3 separate regions of the Homo sapiens genome follow, and all the other regions are linked to region 3. Evidence: promoter capture Hi-C in human tissues and cell types (Jung and others, 2019). All regions are on one chromosome and are shown on one strand. Each heading gives the region's core, a stretch centred on a gene start or on the middle of the fragment in contact. The rest is flanking DNA. Distances are from core to core; before and after follow the strand shown. Region 1 has its middle 16 kb from the start of RNASEH2C. Region 2 holds the start of AP5B1 (adaptor related protein complex 5 subunit beta 1). Region 3 holds the start of RELA (RELA proto-oncogene, NF-kB subunit).

The links. Contacts are between HindIII fragments. The study calls those that stand out against the background at their distance.
Region 1: a contact is called between a fragment that was not itself captured here and the fragment with the promoter of RELA in region 3, in 3 of the 25 tissues and cell types used here (aorta, lymphoblastoid cells and mesenchymal stem cells).
Region 2: a contact is called between the fragment with the promoter of AP5B1 here and the fragment with the promoter of RELA in region 3, in 4 of the 25 tissues and cell types used here (dorsolateral prefrontal cortex, heart right ventricle, lymphoblastoid cells and 1 more).

What each region holds. Positions count from the first base shown.
Region 1 is chr11:65,735,159-65,737,858 of GRCh38, forward strand. No RefSeq gene overlaps it. Among named protein-coding and RNA genes, the nearest start is that of RNASEH2C, 16 kb to the left of the region's middle. The HindIII fragment of the contact is 9,114 bases long and covers 1-2,700 here.
Region 2 is chr11:65,779,585-65,782,379 of GRCh38, forward strand. It overlaps AP5B1 (adaptor related protein complex 5 subunit beta 1), which reads right to left and starts at 1,392. Exons shown (of 2, transcript NM_138368.5): 1 at 858-1,392; 2 at 1-758. The coding sequence starts at 1,007. RefSeq lists silencers at 466-735, 886-1,065, 1,106-1,845 and enhancers at 474-1,376, 2,106-2,763. The HindIII fragment of the contact is 21,769 bases long and covers 1-2,795 here.
Region 3 is chr11:65,661,419-65,664,165 of GRCh38, forward strand. RELA (RELA proto-oncogene, NF-kB subunit) reads right to left here and starts at 1,498. Exons shown (of 11, transcript NM_021975.4): 1 at 1,408-1,498; 2 at 761-787; 3 at 519-670; 4 at 269-417. The coding sequence starts at 1,414. It overlaps RELA-DT (RELA divergent transcript), which reads left to right and starts at 1,588. Exons shown (of 4, transcript NR_183625.1): 1 at 1,588-1,730. RefSeq lists silencers at 1,185-1,244, 1,305-1,714 and an enhancer at 1,805-2,004. The HindIII fragment of the contact is 29,460 bases long and covers 1-2,747 here.

The DNA of each region.
Region 1 (2,700 bases), core at 73-2,572, 74 kb after region 3:
TGGCAGAGTAAGACCCCATCTCTAATACAATACAGTAATATAAAAATGTTGTAGAATGCAAAGTATTGTTCCTGGGTGTGTCTGTGAGGGTGTTGCCAAAGGAGATTAACATTTGAGTCAGTGGACTGGGAGAAGCAGACCCACCCTTAGTCTGGCGTGGCACCATCTAATCAGCTGCCAGCACAGCTAGATTAAAACAGGCAGAAGAACATGGAAGGACTTGACTTGCTGAGCCTTCCGGCTTTCATCTTTCTCCCTTGCTGGATGTTTCCTGCCCTCGAACATCAGACTCCAAGTTCTTCAGCTTTTGGACTCTTGGACTTACACCAGTGGTTTGCAGCTCTCGGGCCTTTGTTCACAGACTGAAGGCTGCACTGTTGGCTTCCCTACTTTTGAGGTTTTGGGTCTTGGACTGGCTTCCCTGATCCTCAGCTTGCAGACAGCCTATTGTGGGACTTCACCTTGTGATCATGTGAATCATTACTCCTCAATAAACTCCCCTTCATATATACATCTATCCTATTAGTTCTGTCCCTTTAGAGAACTCTAATATACCTGTCTAACTGAAACTTTGTACCTTTTGAGCAATATCTTCCCATTTCCCACTCTCCCATGCCCCTAGCCTCTGGTAATCTCTGGATACCTGATCTAAGGGGTCCAACAGGATATTTTCATTTTTCAGGTCATAAGATGGGATGGGTTGAAACCTTGTGCCAGCATCATCTTTATGTGGAATCTAGAAGACATAAACTTAAGTAGGAGGTCAACAGGAAAATTATAATTTGGAGGATGAGAAAATTAATGCATCTATGCCCATGGCATCATGTTTTTTATCTTTGTGTTTGTGAAACAACAGCTTTAAGTCTTATAGGAGCTCACAGGTGTAAATCATGGTGTCCTCCTCTTATGCCGTCAGGGATTCATAAGAAACAGATTTAATCTTGGACAGGTGTACCCAACTAGTGATTCCCTGAAGTTTAACAGCAGGGAAGGTACTTAACAATACCTGATAGGGGCTCTTCCATTTGGGTTGTAATTGATCCTCTGGGGATCCTTTTTAACAAAAAGTTTTTTGTAAGACTAGGTGTTCAGGTTGAACAGAGGAGCTATTTCTTTCCTATGTGGGAAAGGGAAGTACTTTGTTATTATAATTTTTGAAGGGCCTTTGTGCCTAGCCTAAATTCTAAGGGGTGGCACAGTGAGGCATGTTTGGCCCCCTGTTTCCTGTCATGGTCTGACTTCTTTTTTTTTGAAGGCTTCTTTGGAATTCCCTTTGGCTAAGGGACTTAGAGTCAAAAGACTTATAGCCAATTAAACATCCTAGGTCAGAAGGAAATGGAGGTGAGCAGGCACTCATTTGCCCTTAAAATCTTTTAAAGCAATATAAGAGTCAAAAACTAAATGCCAATAATAAGGTTATATGTAAAAAAAAAAAAAAAACAGCATAGAATCAAGCTATATTCGGGGAAAACACTGTTTTCGCAGACCTCTAAGACAAAACATTTTAGTACCAGGGCCCAATAGTCAGAACCAGAGGAAAAAAAGTCACAATGTTGATGAAAAGGTTGATGGAAAGAGCCATCATCCCAGGCCTTCTTAAAGGGAGAAAGAATTGAAAGTAGTGAGACACAACAACAGTTGAATCTCTGAGACATGAATCCAAGACATTTTAAAATAAACCAGGTAGATTATTAAAAGCAAAACTTCCTGTAATTTAGCAAATCAATACCTTAAGAAAACCTGTTGCCAATATATAGACCATTCTCTAGAAAGTCTACCACAGTTTTCCTTTAGTCATAGTCAGCTTAAGCTTAATCATACACAAAATTCCCCTTCACAAACCCCATCATGACCCACATGGACCATCTACAACATGCTTGGACTTTCTGACTTGTCCTATAGGACCCCTTCCTTAAAGAACTCATCATTTTACTCTAGGATAAGAATTTACTACACAAGATCCCTCCTCATATAAAATAACTTTGTATTCTTCCTTGTATCCTTCTTTATATCCTTCCTTGTATCCTTCTTTGTATTCTTCCTTGCAAAAAGTACATCTATCCATAACTTTCTTCATATCTCTCTTTTCTACTTACTGGTTCCTTCATATTTTGAACCTCTCTTTTAATAACTTCCAAATTAGACAAAAATTATTATTTTTCCCAATAAAAAACACACTTTCTTTGGCTTATTTTATATAAATCTAAAGAGCAAGAAATTCTGAACTGCTCATCAGACATTGGCACTCTATAGATGAGAACTATTTCACAGCTTTAAGATTTTCAACTATACATAAGCTCACTGTTTAAAAGCCATCCTAACCATTCTAAAGGCTACAAACATCAGAGGTTCATCTAGGTAAAAATCTTAAAGTTAAATTTTAGAAGACATAACATTCCCTTCAAACTAATAAATTTAGACTAGTCTTATTTTTTAATTTATGAATTCTCTTTTATTTATAAGCCAATTTGATAGTATGCTAAACACAACACCCATCACACAAATGAAGTGACCTACACAAGACAGATGGATCCAAGTTACTTATAAAATTGGGACCTGTCTATCTCAATACATTTTGTTTGCCCAGATACGTAGGGAAGACAGGAAGAGGCAGAGAAGGGACCCCATAGCATCAAATAAGGAAGGGAGGTGGTAAACCATGTTGCTCAAGGGGAGGTCTCAGAGTCCTTGAGCTACCAG
Region 2 (2,795 bases), core at 142-2,641, 120 kb after region 3:
TGTCCCTGCAGACCCCGCAGGGCCCAGCCCAGCAGCCACAGGAGCTGGGCCTGGGCCACAGGAGTGAGCAGATAGGAGGTGTCCAGAAGCTGGATCACCGCAGCCCGCAGCTCCCGCGCCTCCTCAGGGCTGTGCTCTCGTGCTGTAAGGCTACGCTCCCCCTCTCCCTCCTCAGCTGCCGGCCAGCTGGGTGCCTGGGGCTGAAGGCGTCCATCGCCCTCCTCCACTAGTGTCCAATCCCAGGGACCACCCCCAGTTGGGGAGACCTTATCCGTGAGCAGTCCCCCCAGGCCAGCCCCAACCCGGGACTGGAGCACCAAGGTGTTGCGCAAAGCGAGGGCCAGCAACAGGCTGAGTGGCTGGACAGGGCCTTCCTGCCCCAGCAGGCCCCGCAGCAACCCCAGGGAGCCCCCCAGCAGCCCGGGCTTGCAGCTCTCTAGCTCTCGCAGGCACTCGCAGGCCGTGGCCTGCAAGGGGCGCTGTTCCGAGGCGGGGACAAAGCCTCGCCCCAGATCGCTACCCGCGGCCAGGCCGAGCAGTAGGGGCAGGAGCCGGCAGGAGGCGCCCGAGGTGGGGCCCAGCGCGCCGCCCGCCGCCAGGGCAGTGGTGGCCGCCAGCAGCAGTGGCCGACGGAGAGCTGAGGGCCGCGGGGGTAGGAGGACCAAGGTGTCCAACAGGGAGGTGGCGGCCACTTCGGCCGCAGAGGCGTCGGGCCACAGCTGCGCAGGGTACTCCATGCTCAGGGCCAGCAGGGAAACCTGGATGGGGGATTAGGAGGGAATCACGAAGATGAGGTTCATGACGCGGCGGGCTGGGGTGACCCTGCGGAACGGCGCAGGGGACGCGTGGGGGCCTACCTTGGTCTGTTCGCTCAGCTTCTCACTTCTCAGGTCGCTCAGCAGGTCGCGACCCAAATCCTCCCCCTCGGGACCTGCCATGAAGGCAGACGGGCTGGCCCGGAAGGCCCCCAAGCGCTGGGCCCAGGCGTCCCGGCTCAGGGGCCCCATGGTGAGGCGCGCGGGCCCCTGCGCAGGGAAGAGGGACCCTCAGGCCGCAGCCACCGGGAGCGCGGGGCCCGCTGCCGACCCCGAGGGGCTGCGGTCACCCCCAGACGCCGCGCAGATGCCGGCGGGACCCGCGCCCGGCTCCCACGGTGAGACCAGGGCTCTCGGGGCCGACGCCAGAGCTGGGCGCCGGGGCCCTCGCGGGACAGGACAGGAGCAGGGCGGGGGAGGGTGCGTGCCGAGAGCTCGTTAGGCCGCCTCCCTCCCGCCCGCGGCCCGCACCGAAACCACAGCGCCACCCCGGCCCCCGGCGCCGGCGGTAACGGGCCGCGCTCGCCGCCTGACTCAGCCGCCGCGGGCACTCAGGCCGGCCGGCTCCTTCCGGGCTGGCGGCGCGGGGCGGGGCGCGGCGCGGGGGCGGCCGAGTCCGGGCGGGGAGGGGCGGGGCGTAACGGGGCCACCGCCTCCCGCAGGTGTCGACTCGCAGGTTTCGCGGGGGCTGACTAACTGTCCCGCCGCGCAGGCCCCCTTCCCCGAAACCGCCGCAGGCCGGGGCAGGAAAGGCGGAGGGGAGTGGGTAGGGGTGGCGGAGCGGGGTGGGCCTGGGCCCCAGATGCCGGGTACCGCGGCGCAGGGCTGCGATCCCGCGGCCCTCGGCGGACAGCGGCCCGGTCCCACCAGCGCCCGCCAAGCCGCGCAGGGCGGCAGCCAGCGCGCCCCCCGCCGGCGCCCGGGCACACCGCACCCTGCGCCAGACGCGCGGCCCCGGGGGGCGTGGGTGCGGGTCCTGGGGCTCCCGGAGTGGCCCCTGGGGGTGACCAAGGTGCGGTCGCAGGGCGCCCGCAGGAAAAGCGCCCCAGCTGAACCGGTCCGGCGGGCGCCGCAGGGCTTGGCTTCGCTTCCCTGACGCCTGCCCGGGCCCCCAGCCCGCTCGGCTTGGGGGCGAGGAGCCGGCGCCGCGGTTGCGGCCAGCCAGGAGCTTCTGACCTTTGTTTGCCCGAGGCCGCGCTGGCGGCCCGCAGGGGTCGTGACGGCGAGGGCGGGGCAGGGCCCTAAGTCGAAAACAACGGGATCCATACTCGGGAAGTGCGGGCTGTCAGGGCCTGGCCGGTCACGGGGCTCGAGGCATGCCTAGCGATGGGGAAAACAGGCCCAGGAGGAGGGCGGCCTTGCCAACCGAGATCTGGGGCCAAGCCGGGCCGGAACCCAGCACTCCAGACTTCAGTGGGCTGGATTCTGGCTGTTTGGGGGCATTCGGGGGTCTGGGCGGCGGTCTCTCCCAGGCCAGAGGCCCAGGTTGCAGGTGCCCCACAGACCACCGGTTTCCAGGGCACAGAACCGCCGGCGCCCAAACCTCACCACCCCTCTGGCTCCAATTAGCCGCTTTGAAGATGAAACAGGCCTGAGCCCCCATGCAAGCCAGTGCCAGCTGGCCTCTCCCTACCCCATCCTGCTCCAGATGGGAGGTGGTGGAGAGTTGAGGGGTGGAGAGTGCCAAAAAGGAGGCTGTCTGGGTGCCCTTGGGGATGGAGAGATAGAGACCCACTCGGAGGGACAGGTCCAGCCAGAAGGCCCGGTCCCGGCTCCTCTAGGCCCTGGCTCCACAGTTGACTCACAGGCAGCAGCCCCAAACTACTTCCCTCTAGGTGCCTCAGTTTCCCCATCTATAAAATGGGAGTGATAACTCCCACCCAAGAGGCTGTGGGGTGAGGCAGCCTGGCTAATTAAACCCAAGATGAAAGAGGCAGGATGAGAGCAGCCCTGGGGAGGGGAGGCAGCCTGCAGTAGGAG
Region 3 (2,747 bases), core at 248-2,747:
GTGACTCTGAGGGACTTGTCCTTCCAGCTACAGGGGTCAGGAATTCAGAAGTGATTAGGGACCCATCCGTATCCCCTGGAACTCATCTGCTAGAGTAAACGTACAAATAGATAATTTCAAGACAAAGGCAGTTTACTTGCAGAGCTGAGTCAGGGCAAGGAGTGAGGAATTCTGCCCTGGGTCCAGAAAGGAGTAACACTGTAGCGGCTACTTCATAGCCCGCCTCCTGTCCCCTCATGCTGGGCCTCCTAGCCTGCAGGGACCTCACCTGTGGATGCAGCGGTCCGGGCAGAGCTCAGCCTCATAGAAGCCATCCCGGCAGTCCTTTCCTACAAGCTCGTGGGGGTGAGGCCGGTGAGGAGGGTCCTTGGTGACCAGGGAGATGCGCACTGTCCCTGGTCCTGTGTAGCCATTGATCTGTCCAAAGTACAGAGGCCCAGACATCCAAACCTGACTCCCAAACACAGAGGGCTGGGGTTCCACAGTCCCTTCCCCGCACACCCTGGCGCAGTGCTGACCTTGATGGTGGGGTGGGTCTTGGTGGTATCTGTGCTCCTCTCGCCTGGGATGCTGCCCGCGGAGCGCCCCTCGCACTTGTAGCGGAAGCGCATGCCCCGCTGCTTGGGCTGCTCAATGATCTCCACATAGGGGCCAGAGGCCTGGGCTGGCTCTGCCAGGGGACACCGCAGCCCCATTAGGCGGCTGCCCCCACTGCCCTACCCCAGGGAGCACCTCCCCGACCGCCGCGGGGGCCACTTACCTGCCGGGAAGATGAGGGGGAACAGTTCTGAAAGGGGAGGGAGATCAGGGTCAGCACACACCCAATGCCCATTCTCACAAGGAGGAATCTGCTCTCCACGGAGAGGAGAAGCCAGGCTCCCTCCCAGGGGAACTGAGTCAGGACCTGCTCCCTAGAACCTGCGGTGAAACTAAGGGGTGGAGGAAAGGAACCAGAAACACCTGCTTCTTGAGGGAAAACGGGGTAAGGAATCCTTCTTCTCCAGAGGGAAGCTGAATCAGGGCCTGTTGTACTTTCTTAAGGAAAATTGAGGGAGGGCACGCCCCACCTCCCTCCAGAGAGGAAACTGAATCAGATGCGTTCTCCCCTAATAGGGAAACGAAGCCAGAGCTGCCCCCATGGACGGTGTGGAGGGAAACTGAGTCAAGGTTCCCTCTGCTCCCCCACCCAGGGAGGATGCTGAGTCAAGGGCCACCCCCTCCACCCAGAGGGGAAACTGAGTCAGACCCCTCCCCGCCTGCCCCGCCCCGCGCCACCATCCGGCAGGCCGACCGCTCCCTGCGCAGCGCCCGTCGGCGCAGGAAGGGGCGGAAAGCGGCGCGGGGGCTCCCGCCACAGCCGCGGCGGCCCCGGCGATGCCACCCCGCGGGGTCAGAGGGCGACCTCACCGTCCATGGCCGGGGTCCCGGGGGCGGGGCCGGGGTCGCAGCTGGGCCCGCGGCGTGCACTACAGACGAGCCATTCGCCAGAGGCGGAAATGCGCCGCGCGGCCCGCCGTCGCGTCACTGCCCGGAATCCGGCCGCGCCTGCGCGCTGCCCCGCCGCCGCCCGGCGCAGGGGCCGGGAGCAAGTGCACGCCGCGCGGAGGACGAAGAGGCTGCACGCACAGCCGCTGCCGGGGGTCGGGGCCAAGTGCGCGCCTCGCCGAGGACGAAGAGGCTGGCGTGCCCGGTGGCTCGGCTAGCTCCCGGGTCCCGGCCCCGCCTGGAGGGTGGGTCCGCCGATTACTCACTTTGTTTTTAGGGGATTTCAGGGCCCCCTCCCGCCGATCGGCGGAGTTTGGTGATGTCACTCTGGGCCGGGTCTGGAGCAAAGCCAGGGCTACTGGGCTGCGGCCGCCCGCCCCGCGCAGGGAAAAGCCCGACCGGGCCTTCTGCTCCGCAGAGGCCGGGTGGTTGAACTCCGCGCGGGTTTCCTAACCGCTAAAGGTGCCTTTCGGTGGTGGCTGTCTCAGAAGCACGTTAAAATGTCCTACCCACCCCAATCTAGATGCGGCTGTGGGGGAATGGGAGCGGCCGGACCTCCCAGCCTGACAGTGCATCAAGAGCTTTGCGGAGCCTACAGCCCGGATGGGACGACTGAGGCCCTCCCGCTGGCGAGCTGGCCGAGGGCTCGTCCCTCTCCAGCTAAAGCGCCAGCTTACGATACAGCCAAACTGCCGGCTCTCATCGGCTGTGGGAGCAGGAGGCCCCCAGGGGTAAATCCCGGAGCCTCGTCTCTGAAGCCTGGCGCTTGTGTCTCAGAAGGTGCGGGACCCACAGGGACACTTGAATCAGCAGGCTCACGACCCCCCACCCCCCTGCCCCCGCCTGTGTTTGCCCTGGACCTCCAGCTAGGGCTGACCACTAATTCTGTCATGTGACCCCACAGTGCAGGTAGCTCCCCCAAGACCAAGCCCAAGGCGCGTCCGTGTGGAGGCTGGGGCTGACGCACCCCCACCCCAGGCCTCATCCCCAAAGGAGGATGCTCCACTGCAGGGGGCGGAGTCTTCTCCAGATGGAGAAAGACTTTTTTATTTTCTCTGAATTCGTCTTAAATTAGGAAATCATGTGGGAATTGGAAAAGATTGGAAATTCTGACTTGTTTCCCAGGCTCTGAAGAAACAGGAAGAGAAAAGTGAAAATAGAGTTAGCACCCCGCCCACTCATTTCAGTTTCTCCAGTGGCTGGCCCTGATTAGAAAAGTGTTTACTTTTGGCAGGGGGCGGGGGAGGCCGACTTCAGGTGAC